Linked DNA regions of Homo sapiens: regions 1, 2, 3 and 5 are each linked to region 4. Evidence: promoter capture Hi-C in 16 types of primary human blood cells and fetal thymus (Javierre and others, 2016). All regions are on one chromosome and are shown on one strand. The core of a region is centred on a gene start or on the middle of the fragment in contact, and the rest is flanking DNA. Distances in the headings are between cores, read along the strand shown.

The links. Contacts are between HindIII fragments. The CHiCAGO score rates a contact against its expected background, and 5 or more counts as called.
Region 1: a contact is called between a fragment that was not itself captured here and the fragment with the promoter of VAV3-AS1 in region 4, in 1 of 17 cell types (neutrophils). The highest score is 7.6, in neutrophils.
Region 2: a contact is called between a fragment that was not itself captured here and the fragment with the promoter of VAV3-AS1 in region 4, in 1 of 17 cell types (neutrophils). The highest score is 5.6, in neutrophils.
Region 3: a contact is called between the fragment with the promoter of PRMT6 here and the fragment with the promoter of VAV3-AS1 in region 4, in 1 of 17 cell types (fetal thymus). The highest score is 9.1, in fetal thymus.
Region 5: a fragment that was not itself captured here is called in contact with the fragment with the promoter of VAV3-AS1 in region 4 in 2 of 17 cell types (M0 macrophages and activated CD4 T cells); the score reaches 6.7 in M0 macrophages.

What each region holds. Positions count from the first base shown.
Region 1 is chr1:108,566,531-108,569,230 of GRCh38, forward strand. The region is part of intron 1 of EEIG2 (EEIG family member 2); the gene reads left to right. Among named protein-coding and RNA genes, the nearest start is that of EEIG2, 7.8 kb to the left of the region's middle. RefSeq lists a silencer at 2,295-2,510. The HindIII fragment of the contact is 3,399 bases long and covers 1-2,700 here.
Region 2 is chr1:108,674,733-108,677,432 of GRCh38, forward strand. No RefSeq gene overlaps it. Among named protein-coding and RNA genes, the nearest start is that of HENMT1, 15 kb to the left of the region's middle. The HindIII fragment of the contact is 9,896 bases long and covers 1-2,700 here.
Region 3 is chr1:107,055,391-107,058,090 of GRCh38, forward strand. PRMT6 (protein arginine methyltransferase 6) reads left to right here and starts at 1,284. Exons shown (of 1, transcript NM_018137.3): 1 at 1,284-2,700. The coding sequence starts at 1,326. The coding sequence ends at 2,453. RefSeq lists enhancers at 1,516-1,565, 1,586-1,725, 1,736-1,865, 1,876-2,085. The HindIII fragment of the contact is 2,330 bases long and covers 1-1,347 here.
Region 4 is chr1:107,963,026-107,965,725 of GRCh38, forward strand. VAV3-AS1 (VAV3 antisense RNA 1) reads left to right here and starts at 1,418. Exons shown (of 3, transcript NR_046653.1): 1 at 1,418-1,479. It overlaps VAV3 (vav guanine nucleotide exchange factor 3), which reads right to left and starts at 2,155. Exons shown (of 27, transcript NM_006113.5): 1 at 1,641-2,155. The coding sequence starts at 1,844. RefSeq lists enhancers at 1,166-1,295, 2,642-2,700. The HindIII fragment of the contact is 9,456 bases long and covers 1-1,435 here.
Region 5 is chr1:108,654,935-108,657,634 of GRCh38, forward strand. HENMT1 (HEN methyltransferase 1) reads right to left here. Exons shown (of 8, transcript NM_001102592.2): 3 at 2,517-2,645; 4 at 652-764. Among named protein-coding and RNA genes, the nearest start is that of HENMT1, 4.8 kb to the right of the region's middle. The HindIII fragment of the contact is 267 bases long and covers 1,148-1,414 here.

The sequences.
Region 1 (2,700 bases), core at 193-2,692, 600 kb after region 4:
TACATTCGAAGGAATTGAAATCAGTATGTTGAAGAGAATTCTGTACTCTTATTGTCTTTGCAGCATTATTTACAATAGCCAAGTTATTGAAACAACCTAAGTGTCTGTAAACAGATGAATGGATAAAGAAGATGTGGTATATACAATGGAAATTATTCGGCCTTTTAAAAAAAAAAAAGGAAATCCTGTCATTTGTGACAACATGGATGAACCTGGAGGACTTTTGTTTAAAATGAAATAAGCCAGGCACAGAAAGGCAAATACTGCATCATCTCACATATATGTGGGATATAAAAAAGGTGAACTCATAGTGGGTGAGGGCACGGAGAGATGGGGAACTGTTGGTCATAGGGCACAAAGTTTCAATTAGGTGGCATGGATATGTTCAGATCTGTTGTACAGAATGCTGACTATAGTTAATAATAATGTATTATACTTGAAAATTGCTAAGAGAATAGATCATAAGTGTTCTCCAACAGCAAAAAAAATAAATATGTGAGTTGATGGCTATGTTAATTGGCTTGGTTTAGCAATTTCACAATATATACACATATCAAAACATTACATAGTACACAGTAAGTATATACAATTTTTGTCAACTATATTTTAATATAGTTAAGTAATTAAAATAAAAAATTTTTTAATTAAAAAATTCCTTATACCCTGACCAGAAATGGAGTCATCAATTCACATTATTATAATACCTGTAATAATAGTAGCTGACATTTATTTGAGCACTTTCCCAGTGCGTCAGGAACTTTTCTAAGCCTTTACATTTAATCTTCAAGATATTCCCGTGAGGAAGGTGCTATTATTACGTCATTACCATTATTAGTGCCCTTGCCATTATTGCTGCTATTACTCTCATTTTATACCTGGGGAAACAGAAGCACAAAGAGATGCTAAAAGTTACTCAGCTAGTAAGTGGTAGAGCTAGGAGGCATTCTAGCTCCAAGGACCACTGTTAATCACTAAATTCTACTGCCTTTCAGGCTTTGTGTTGTATGCTTTCTCATTTTTATGTTTTATAAAAATGGTAGGTAAATATATGTAGTATAACTTTTTCTGAATGTCAGTTTCAGAAAACTGGTTCCAATATGTGACATCACTAAACAGGTTACAAGACCTGGCCCCTTTAGATTTTCCCTGAGGCAATTGTATATGAAAGATAAGTAAAATGCAGCGAGGCATTTTTATGGGCTCATGCCTGTAATCCCAGCACTTTGGAAGACTGAAGCAGGAGGGTGGCTTGAGCCCAGAAATTCAAGAACAGCCTGGGCAACATAGTGAGACCCTGTCTTTGAAGAAAATTTAAAAATTAGCTGGGTTTCGTGGCATGCACCTGTGTTCCCAGCTACTCAGGGAGACTGAGGTGGGAGAATCTCTTGAGCTTGGGAGATTGAAGCTGCAATGAGCCATGATTACACCACTGCACTCCAGCATGGGTGATGGAGCAGGACTCTGTCTCAAAAAAAAAGAAAAGAAAACAAAAGAAAAGAAAAATGGTACTCATGCCACTTTTTTTTTCAAGATGTGGCTTTGTACAACTAAGTTCACAAAATTTAGTCACATTATTGGATAGTCATATCTTATAAAAATAGTATTAATGCCATTTTACACCAGTAAGTTAATATTCACCACTGTATCACTGAGCCTTACATAGCCAGCATTTTGTAAATATTGAAAGAAAGCAAATATTGGGAGAAAAGATCTGTTGTAGTTTTGCTAAAGATGACACACATACAGAGATCACTAAATTAAATATATGGGGAAGTAGATCATGTTTTATCTACACAGCTTGTAAAAAATTATGTTCGGTTTGGGGTGCAGGCCTTTGAGGGTTATCAAATGGAGGTCCAAGGAAGATATTCGGATTCTTAAGAATCTTGAATTATGCTAATAACAGGAGACTGGGGTTAGTCTTGAGAGAAGATAATGGTCTTCAAATACTAAAAAATTGACTTGTATATATGTATATTTTACATTCCTAATTTTATTTGATTCTTACAAAACCCCTTTAATAGAAGTAGGAAACCATTGTCACCTGTTTTTGATTTAGAATGGATGTCAGGTGCTATAACAAGGTATTTTTAAAAAATAACTGGCTTAACCAAGATAGAAGTTTACTTCTCTTTCATATGAAGTCCAACCTAGTGTGGTAGCTGTGCTCTGTCCAGTTGTCAGGGGCCTGGACTCTTTTTGTCTTATTGCTCTCAGGGTATTGTTCTCATCCACAGGGACTGACTTGGCTCACCCCACATCCGAATTCCAGCCACTGGGAAGGAGGAGAGGGGAAGGGAAGGTCCCTTGTGCTCACAGTCCATTGACCAGAACATCAGCACCATGCCACATCCAGCCCCAAGGTTGAGAAATTTAGTTTTTGCTGGGTGCCTGTATGCCTAACGAAACACTGAATTAGAATAAAGGGAGGAGAGGACAGATATCAGGATAATTAGCCTCTGTCATACCACTCTTTTAGACATGAGAAAGTTGATCCTTAGAAAATAATTTGTTCAAAGTCACATATCAACTAATGAAAGATATTTGAAAAATTGTGCCATAAAGAAGGAATAGACTATGCTGGGTGCAGCTGAGGACAGAACTAGGACCAGTGGGGAGATGTTAAAGAAGGCATGTTTCTATTCAGTATAACATTAAAACAAATAAGTTCTAACATTTAGGAGAGTAAAATAGTGAGTA
Region 2 (2,700 bases), core at 31-2,530, 710 kb after region 4:
TAAACTAAACCAAAAGTTGGGTTTTTTTTAAAAAGATAAACAAAATTGGCAAACCTTTAGCCAGACTAACAGAAAAAAAGGGAGAAGACCCAAATAAAATCAGAGACAAAAAAGGAGACATTACCACTGATACCACAGAAATTCAAAGGATCATTAGTGGCTACTATTAGCAACTATATGCCAATAAACTAGAGAATCTAGAGGTATGGATAATTCCTAGACATGACTCACCAAGATTGAATCATGAAGAAATCCAAATCCTGAATAGATCAATAACAAGTAATGAGATCGAAGATGTAATAAAAAGTTTCCCGCTCTCCCTCTACCTCTCCCTCTCCCTCTCCGTCTCCCTCTCCCCACGGTCTCCCTCTCTTTCCAAGGTCTCCCTCTCATGCGGAGCCGAAGCTGGACTGTACTGCTGCCATCTCGGCTCACTGCAACCTCCCTGCCTGATTCTCCTGCCTCAGCCTGCCGAGTGCCTGCGATTGCAGGCACGTGCCGCCACGCCTGACTGGTTTTGGTGGAGACGGGGTTTCGCTGTGTTGGCCGGGCCGGTCTCCAGCCCCTAACCGCGAGTGATCCGCCAGCCTCGGCCTCCCGAGGTGCCGGGATTGCAGACGGAGTCTCGTTCACTCAGTGCTCAATGGTGCCCAGGCTGGAGTGCAGTGGCGTGATCTCGGCTGGCTACAACCTCCACCTCCCAGCCGCCTGCCTTGGCATCCCAAACTGCCGAGATTGCAGCCTCTGCCCGGCCACCATCCCGTCTGGGAGATGAGGAGTGTCTCTGCCTGGCCGCCCATCGTCTGGGATGTGAGGAGCCCCTCTGCCTGGCTGCCTAGTCTGGAAAGTGAGGAGCGTCTCCGCCCGGCCGCCATCACATCTAGGAAGTGAGGAGCGTCTCTGCCCGGCCGCCCATCCTCTGAGATGTGGGGAGCGCCTCTGCCCCGCCACCCCATCTGGGATGTGAGGAGCGCCTCTGCCCGGCCGCCCCGTCTGAGAAGTGAGGAGACCCTCTGCCTGGCAACCACCCCGTCTGAGAAGTGAGGAGCCCCTCCGCCCGGCAGCTGCCCCGTCTGAGAAGTGAGGAGCCTCTCTGCCCGGCAGCCACCCCATCTGGGAAGTGAGGAGCGTCTCCGCCCGGCAGCCACCCTGTCCGGGAGGGAGGTGGGGGGGGGTCAGCCCCCCGCCCGGCCAGCCGCCCCATCCGGGAGGGAGGTGAGGGGGTCAGCCCCCCGCCCGGCCAGCCGCCCCGTCCGGGAGGTGAGGGGCGCCTCTGCCCGGCCGCCCCTACTGGGAAGTGAGGAGCCCCTCTGCCCGGCCAGCCGCCCCGTCCGGGAGGGAGGTGGGGGGTCAGCCCCCCGCCCGGCCAGCCGCCCCGTCCGGGAGGTGAGGGGCGCCTCTGCCCGGCCGCCCCTACTGGGAAGTGAAGAGCCCCTCTGCCCGGCCACCACCCCGTCTGGGAGGTGTGCCCAACAGCTCATTGAGAATGGGCCATGATGACAATGGCGGTTTTGTGGAATAGAAAGGGGGGAAAGGTGGGGAAAAGATTGAGAAATCGGATGGTTGCCGTGTCTGTGTAGAAAGAAGTAGACATGGGAGACTTTTCATTTTGTGCTGCACTAAGAAAAATTCTTCTGCCTTGGGATCCTGTAGATCTGTGACCTTACCCCCAACCCTGTGCTCTCTGAAACATGTGCTGTGTCCACTCAGGGTTAAATGGATTAAGGGCGGTGCAAGATGTGCTTTGTTAAACAGATGCTTGAAGGCAGCATGCTCGTTAAGAGTCATCACCACTCCCTAATCTCAAGTAATCAGGGACACAAACACTGCGGAAGGCCGCAGGGTCCTCTACCTAGGAAAACCAGAGACCTTTGTTCACTTGTTTATCTGCTGACCTTCCCTCCACTATTGTCCCATGACCCTGCCAAATCCCCCTCTGTGAGAAACACCCAAGAATTATCAATAAAAATAAAATAAAATAAAATAAAAAAAGGGACAGAAATTGTGCATTCGGGGAGCTCGGATTTTAAGGCAGTAGCTTGCCGATGCTCCCAGCTGAATAAAGCCCTTCCTTCTACAAAAAAAGAAAAAAAATTCCCAATAAAGAAAAGCCCAGGACCTGCTGGCTTCACTGCTGAATTCCACCAAATATTTAAAGAACTAATACTATGTACATTTTAAAATAATTAAGAGTATAAATGGATGGCTGGGCATGGTGGCGCATGCCTGTAATCCTAGCACATTGAGAGGCCAAGGCGGGCAGATCACTTGAGGTCAGGAGTTTGAGATCAGCCTGGCCAATATGGCAAAGCCCCATCTCTACTAAAAATACAAAAATTAGCCGGATGTGGTGGCACACACCTGTAATTCCTGCTACTCGGGAGGCTGAGGCACAAGAATCACTTGAGCCCAGGAGGCAGAGGTTGCAATAAGCTGAGATCATGTCACTGCACTCCAGCCTGGGTGACAGAGTCAGACTCTGTCTCAATGAATAAATAAATAAATAAATAAATAAATAAATAAATAGTTTGTAACATAAAGGATAAATGCTTGAAGGGATGGATACCCCATTTTCCATAATGTGATTATTATGCATTACATGCCTGTGTCAAAATATCTCATGTACTCCATAAATATATACACCTTCTAGGTACTCATAAAAATTACAAATTGAAAAATTTTTAAATAAAATATTGTATA
Region 3 (2,700 bases), core at 34-2,533, 910 kb before region 4:
AAACATATTTTATTTCCATTATGGACAACAAAAAGAGAGTAACAGCTGATGGTTGACTACAAGAAAAATATAAGAGAAAGAGGAGAGTGTCAATATTGCCCGGACAAGAAAACACAGGAAAAAATGAATTGCATTGAGAAAGTGATTAAAAGAAATTGATTCCGTTATTTCTGAGAGAAAAAAACGCATATATATATAGAATACACCTAGCAACGAGTTTGCTTGTATCACATGGCTCTTGAGTCTGCACTTTTCAGGATTTAACTCTTAAGAGAGCCACAGAATTATCAGAGCAGAGCCGAAAGCCAAGTAACTATTCTTCTAAGTAGAACCAGAAACCTAGTTCTTCCCCAACTGCAATGAAGATTCGCTGGTGGGTGAATGGGCAACTAAAGGCCAGAGAAGTTCTATTATTTGCCCTAAATCACTCAACTAATTAGTGGTCATACTGGAATCAGAACCAAGATTTTGCATTGTTAGGTTTTAATTTTGTTACATTTGCACTCTAACTGCACTGAAAACAGAAAAAAGAAATGCGTAGTGCAGTTTCTAAATTGCCACAGCTGGAGCACTTTAAGAGCTACAATTGTCCAGTTAAGGCGGTAGTGGGTGGATGGTGCTGCCATGTTAATTCGGTGGAATAAAACCAGAGGTGAGTTAGGCCGGGCGCGGTGGCTCACGCTTGTAATCCCAGCACTTTGGGAGGCCGAGGTGGGCGGATCACCTGAGGTCGCGAGTTTGAGACCAGCCTGACCAACAGGGAGAAACCCCGTCTACCAAAAATACAAAATTAGCCGGCCCTGGTGGCATGCGCCCGTAATCCCAGCAACTCGGGAGGCTGAGGCAGGAGAATCGCTTGAACCCAGGAGGCGGAGGTTGCGGTGAGCGGAGATCGCGCCATTGCACTCCAGCCTGGGAAACAAGAGCGAAACTCCCTCTCAAAAAAAACAAAAAACAGAAAAACAAACAAAAAAAACAGAGGTGAGTTCAGCAGAAGAAACAAAGGTGGATTATTAGTCTTAAGTGTGCGTGCCTACTTCAGGAAGGGAGTGAAAGCAAAAAACTGAGGAGCTAAGGGTGGGAGGGGGAATGAAAGGATCTCAGAATGTGGGCGTCGTGGGTGGGAAAAGGGATGCCAGGACACCAGAAGAGCAATACAAAACAGCTCCCGTGAGCAGGCACAGGAGACCTTCCGCGCCGCCGGCCGGGCGACCCCGCAGGAAGTAGGAAGGACGAGCGCGCACTACAAGTCCCAGAAGCCCCCGTTTCCTGGAGCCCGCGCCGTGCCGCGCTACGCCCGCCGGGAGCCGGGCAGAGCGGCCAAGATGTCGCAGCCCAAGAAAAGAAAGCTTGAGTCGGGGGGCGGCGGCGAAGGAGGGGAGGGAACTGAAGAGGAAGATGGCGCGGAGCGGGAGGCGGCCCTGGAGCGACCCCGGAGGACTAAGCGGGAACGGGACCAGCTGTACTACGAGTGCTACTCGGACGTTTCGGTCCACGAGGAGATGATCGCGGACCGCGTCCGCACCGATGCCTACCGCCTGGGTATCCTTCGGAACTGGGCAGCACTGCGAGGCAAGACGGTACTGGACGTGGGCGCGGGCACCGGCATTCTGAGCATCTTCTGTGCCCAGGCCGGGGCCCGGCGCGTGTACGCGGTAGAGGCCAGCGCCATCTGGCAACAGGCCCGGGAGGTGGTGCGGTTCAACGGGCTGGAGGACCGGGTGCACGTCCTGCCGGGACCAGTGGAGACTGTAGAGTTGCCGGAACAGGTGGATGCCATCGTGAGCGAGTGGATGGGCTACGGACTCCTGCACGAGTCCATGCTGAGCTCCGTCCTCCACGCGCGAACCAAGTGGCTGAAGGAGGGCGGTCTTCTCCTGCCGGCCTCCGCCGAGCTCTTCATAGCCCCCATCAGCGACCAGATGCTGGAATGGCGCCTGGGCTTCTGGAGCCAGGTGAAGCAGCACTATGGTGTGGACATGAGCTGCCTGGAGGGCTTCGCCACGCGCTGTCTCATGGGCCACTCGGAGATCGTTGTGCAGGGATTGTCCGGCGAGGACGTGCTGGCCCGGCCGCAGCGCTTTGCTCAGCTAGAGCTCTCCCGCGCCGGCTTGGAGCAGGAGCTGGAGGCCGGAGTGGGCGGGCGCTTCCGCTGCAGCTGCTATGGCTCGGCGCCCATGCATGGCTTTGCCATCTGGTTCCAGGTGACCTTCCCTGGAGGGGAGTCGGAGAAACCCCTGGTGCTGTCCACCTCGCCTTTTCACCCGGCCACTCACTGGAAACAGGCGCTCCTCTACCTGAACGAGCCGGTGCAAGTGGAGCAAGACACGGACGTTTCAGGAGAGATCACGCTGCTGCCCTCCCGGGACAACCCCCGTCGCCTGCGCGTGCTGCTGCGCTACAAAGTGGGAGACCAGGAGGAGAAGACCAAAGACTTTGCCATGGAGGACTGAGCGTTGCCTTTTCTCCCAGCTACCTCCCAAAGCAGCCTGACCTGCGTGGGAGAGGCGTAGCGAGGTCGGAGGGGAAAGGGAGATCCCACGTGCAAGTAGGGGGAATATCTCCCCCTTTTCCCTCATAGCCTCTAGGGAGGGAGAGTGACTTCATTCTCCATTTGAAGAGATTCTTCTGGTGATGTTTACTTAAAAAGTGATCCCCCTCAACAACGGATACAGCGTGCTTATTATTGGGCATTTAGCC
Region 4 (2,700 bases), core at 168-2,667:
ACATAAGAGGAGAAGAGTGAAACACATTCAAAACGATTCTCATCCATTGTTAGCATTCAAATAAAGGCTTCGAGGTTTAAAAAGGTCTTCAGCTGTCCAGAAAACGTGATTATTGAGAGCAACTGCTGAGAGTTCCAGGAAACAAGTTCCAGGAAATGTGCACAGTACTGTACTCCCTACTGGTGGGCCAAGGCATCCTGACCCACGCTGCCTCCTGAGGCTACAGGCAAAGTGGAAAATGGGGATGTGTGAGAGTAGCTAACTGCAGCTCCCACCATAATAGAAAAGTCTGCCAAACCCCTCAAAGGAATTTCCAGAGTTGAGACAACTCTGAAGGGGTACCGAGAGGTAGCAATCACCATGCATGTTTATGGGGGTATAAAATAATTTACCTCACTTTTAAATACGTATGGCTCTCCCCACTTCCATGCCTGTTCTTTCTTAGGGACTGCCCACCAGCAGGTTGAAGGCAAACAGGCAAGGAATGCAGAATCTGAAGTGCAGGGGACCCTGATGAAACACTGACACCAAGAATCACAGATGACTGTGTGTGCTCTAACTTTAAATACATACTTATTAAATCATATAAAGTCCGTTCCTTCTTAAAAGGCGCTGCTCTGGTTGCTAAGTAGCTGAGGCTCTGCGTCATAGAGGATTAGTGCTGAAATGTGTCAGGGAGAGGGCTCTGTCCTCTCCCTTTTAAGTTGAAAGCAGTTTGGTTTTTTGTTTTGTTTTAACATTCTGAAAGAGAAAGAGGCTCTGAACCGAGTTTAACATCCTTCTGTACAAAAATTTTCCGACAGGACAAATAAACTACTCTTCCACTGAACTGTGACTTTTGAGCTGACTCTAGGGTGCACCCAACCTTCCAGAGGTGTCTGGCTTAACCCTCAAAGAGGCAGCTCCAGCCCCAGGAGCCGACCGGCACCACAGCACCTGAGCAGGGCACTGCAGGAAGGAAAGCGGAATCTCTAGTGAAACTTCTCATTTCCTGTCGCTGCTGAGAGAGGCTGGACTCGCTCCTTCTCACATGGCTTAGGAAGAGCTGTAAACGGGAGCTTGCCGGCTGGCCACCAGCTCAGGGGCCCTGGGGGCGGCCTCCGGGTTCTGCTCCCTGTTCTTCCCTTTGACCAATGTCACTCCTGGACAGATAACGGGACCAAACGCCCTTCACTTCCTCGAGTCCTCATGTATGTCATGGTTCCTCTTTTAGGAAAACATGAGTACAAGACGCAAAGCAAAAGAAGAGACTAAAGGCAAATTACCCCATCACCTCGTTTCGTCCCTCCCCTTCGTTATTATAGAAGAGCTTGATCAAATTCCCTTTGTCGCGCCACACACACGCAGAGTAGGTGAAGGGCACCCTAAGACAACTTATTTCTTTCCCGCCTCACAGAAAGCCTTTACGAAATCCTCACACCATCTCCGGACGCAAAGCTTTCGCATTCAGCTTGAGGAGCTAAACCATTTCAAGCCAAGGTAGGAAACGCCAAAGTGGTGCCGAAGTGGTCCCAAAGCAGAAGGCTGGGAAGCAGGGCAAGCTCAGCGCACCTAGACGTTTGCATTTACACAAAGAAATTAGCCGCATGATTAATGGGAGCTGCCGGCTGGAGGCGGGGCGCCCGTGCCGGCCTCCTCACCTGGGACATCTGCGGCCTCAGGTTGATCTCCTTCAGGTTGATGGAGTGCGCCCGGAGGTTGTTAAGCAGCTGGCAGAGCAGGACTCCATCGCGGAGGGTCTGCGCAAGGTCGAACACCTGAGCCGAGTCCCAGGTCACCCGGTGGTTGGTGGGCAGCACCTTGCAATGGATGAGCCACTGCGCGCACTGCTTCCACGGCTCCATGCCCGACGGCTCCGGGACGCGGCTGGGCCGGGGCGGGCGGCAAGGATGCGGCCGCCGCCGCCGCCGCCGCGGTTCCTCCGCGCCCCGCCGACGCCAACAGCCGCCGGCCCTTTCCCCGCGCGGGATCGAGGGAGCAGGAGCCGCGGCTGACGGGTCGCGGGCGCCGCGCTAGGCTCGGCTCCGGTCCCGGCCCGGGTGCGCCGCGACCCGGCCGCCGCTGCAGCGAGTCCCGCGCGCTCTCCGTGCGCCCCGGCCGGCTCGGCGGCGGCTGCCGCGCACAGGCTTCCGACTCCAGCGCCCGGCCCGCCACTGAGCATGCCCAGCACGCCGGCCGGTCTCGCTGCGGTCCGCAAGTCCCCAGACGCGCGGGTGGGAGCGCGCCGGCGGCCGGGGCTGGGGTCTGTGGCCGAGGGCGGGGCGCGGGGGAGGGGCCGGCGGAGGGGGGCGGCGGCCAGAAAGGGGATCCCGCGCCCCCGCCTGCAGCCTTGCGGGGCTCACGCAGCCCCCGGCGTCCTGGGGTCTTCTCTCGGGGCGGCTTCCCGGCTTTGCGGGGAGTGTGGCTGAATACTGTAATACGATGGGGTCCCCCAGGACCCCCTAAACAACAAATGCTCAAAGGAGCGACGGATTAATTGGGGCACCCAGACTCCCCAGAGCAATGAAAAAAGTGCCTAGAGCATCAGTAGAGCACGGCGCTGAAAGTTTTAGAGATCGTCGCCCCCTCGCCCCTTGCAGCTCTATCCCCTCCATTCTCTATAGCTGATTCCTCAGCCTATTCCTCCTAGTTGCCCCTAGTGGTGTTTTGGCACCCTCAAAGTGAGTGAGAGTGCGTGTGTGGAGACGCCTGCGGAAACCG
Region 5 (2,700 bases), core at 31-2,530, 690 kb after region 4:
TTATCTTCTACCTCTATTGATATAAGTCTGACACAGCCTGTTTTCCTTGTCTTGACATATTAAAGACCAGGTCATGGGGAAACTTCCTCTCACAGTGGGAAGTTACTGGCCAATGAAAAAAAGACTGAATATTTAATATTGTTATATTGTTTTCATTTGTAATACTTTTGGTTTTCCAGCTTACTTTGATTCAGTGATTTTGAGATTTTTGTTCTTTAGAAAAAGAATATTCTTGAAGCAATCTGTGGAAATCTAATGTATATATACTATATATACAAGAGATAGGAGAAATGCTATGGTTCAAAATGCAGGCGGTGGCCTGGAGCCTTGGCCTCAGTGTTCTGGGGCATTTTAAATCCTCTGCTATAAATTATCATAGTGTCCAGCATTAAAGTGATGAGATTTTGCTATCTGAATTTTAATTTACAATGCTTTGATTATTATAATCATTTAATTGAGGCTATTCTTTAAGTTGGTAGCAATAAAATGCAGGTATTTTTAGTGTTATGGCAAAGCCTGATTATTCAGTGAGTTGAAGATCCCTAATGGCCCCAATCTTTTAAAACAAATATAAAATCAACACTTTCTCTAAACTCAATAATGCCATTAGTTTTAGATTAACGCATAATTCTTTCAGAAACTAAGTATTACCCTCTCCATCGTAATTTATCCTCATTAATATCTACTCCAACAAGCAATTCAATGCATGGATTGACTTTTAGCAGCCTTAAGAGTGAAGTATCACCACATCCCAGGTCTGCAACCTGTAGATGAGACAGAATGTTATTTCAAAGACATTTATAGCAAGAGAAGTATGATCAAAAACTTTTTTTTGAGGAGGAGAGAGTGGAGTATATATCAGTAATAAAATAATGAAAGTATTATATGGAAGGATCTTTTTGGCAGAAGATGCTACACACACACACACACACACACACACACACACACACACACACACTAACCTGAAACTTTATAAGCCCATAGGCAAATTTCTATTTGATCACACTAAAATAGAAAGGTCCATTCCTATTCCAGAACAACTGTTATTGTCTATATTGAACTAATGAGAAACAATTACGTACACACAGTTTTCCCATTCAGAATCAGAATTTGGAGTCAAATATTCTCAGCATATTTCAGCAAACAAAGCTTTCTAAAACTTAGCTTTCACCCCTCACACATTTATTTGATTAAACAATTACCTCAAACCATCTGAAATTCCATACTGAACTCTGAGCTGCCAAAAAGCCAATTTTAGATGCTTTACCTGAATACACATGCCTAGATGGCTACAAAGATATAAACTAATACCTACGCCTTTGTGTCCAAGTGTAGAAACAGTAGTGGTGGAGTTAAGGGAAACCTTCACACACAGGAATCTTCACTGAGTCTTCAACATCAAGCAGAAAAAGAAAGCTTTCATCTAGAAATTCACCTTACCCGCATCTAATTCACATCCAATCCATTAGTATAGTAACCAGGTATGGATGGATGGATGTAGATTATATGCAATTATGACTTTACTCTGAAGTTAACCGAGTAGGTTCATTATGATCTAATTTTCTTTTTGAGACGGGCTCTTTCTCTGTTGCCCAGGCTGGAATGCAGGTGATAACAGCTCACTGCAGCCTCAACCTCCTGGGCTCAAGGGATCCTCCCACCTCAGCCTCCTGAGTAACTGGGACTATAGGCACGCACCACCATGCACAGCTAATTTTATTTTTTGTAGACACAGGGTCTCACTATGGTGCCAGGCTGGTCTCAAGCTAGCCACCTGCCTCAGCCTCCCAAAGTGCCGGAATTACAGGTGTAAACCATTGCACCCGGCCCATTATCATCTAATTTTAAAAGAACCACAATACCTGTGGCTACAATACCAGTTTGCCTGATATTCTAACTAAATGCTCTAGAAGTACGGTACCTACAAGATCACATCCAACTATAAAATCTTAAGATTTTCTTCACATTTGAACCTGACAATGCTGAATTCTGTCTGAGCCCTGTGTTTCTGGCATCTGCTAAAGGAATCCACCTGTGCTTTGTGTTCCAGGAAAGGGCTCACTGCAAAAAACCACCCTCCTCCATAAAACTTAGATAAGATTCCTTGTGTTTCCATTCTTTGCCTCAAATGATTATCATGAATACTTGTCCCCACTGATCAATGGGAAGAAAATTCCTTTTTTAACCATACTTTATTCAAACTTTACTTCTTCCCCCAGGGCCCTGCACTACAGCCTGAGGAAACAGCCCCCTCCTTAAGGCTCCCCATTCCACTGTCCTTTCAAACCACCCTCTCATCCCACCTCCCTAGTTTCTAGCTTTGTTCACTTCTCCAGTAAAAGAAAAACCCCTTTTGCTTAACTCTTGAGACACCTGCAGATCTTGTGGTTACGGCATTCTCCCTATTGCAATAACCCCTGTGAAAAGTCTCTCCATACTAATCCATTTGACAAAACACCTCATATGACTAGTCTACTAGTCTTAATAATTAAATGTTTGGAAAGAGAAATACCTACCTTCTTAGGCTCATGTTGATCCACTAAATTTTTAACGAACTGGTACCGCTGTCTGTATAGTGGAGGTTTAAACTGAATTGCCGTCTCCCTGGGAACTTCTTCAAAATTACCGTCAACCACACTACTGCACTGAAGTTCACAAACAAAAAAAGACAGGTTCTAAATCATGCATGACTTCAGAAAT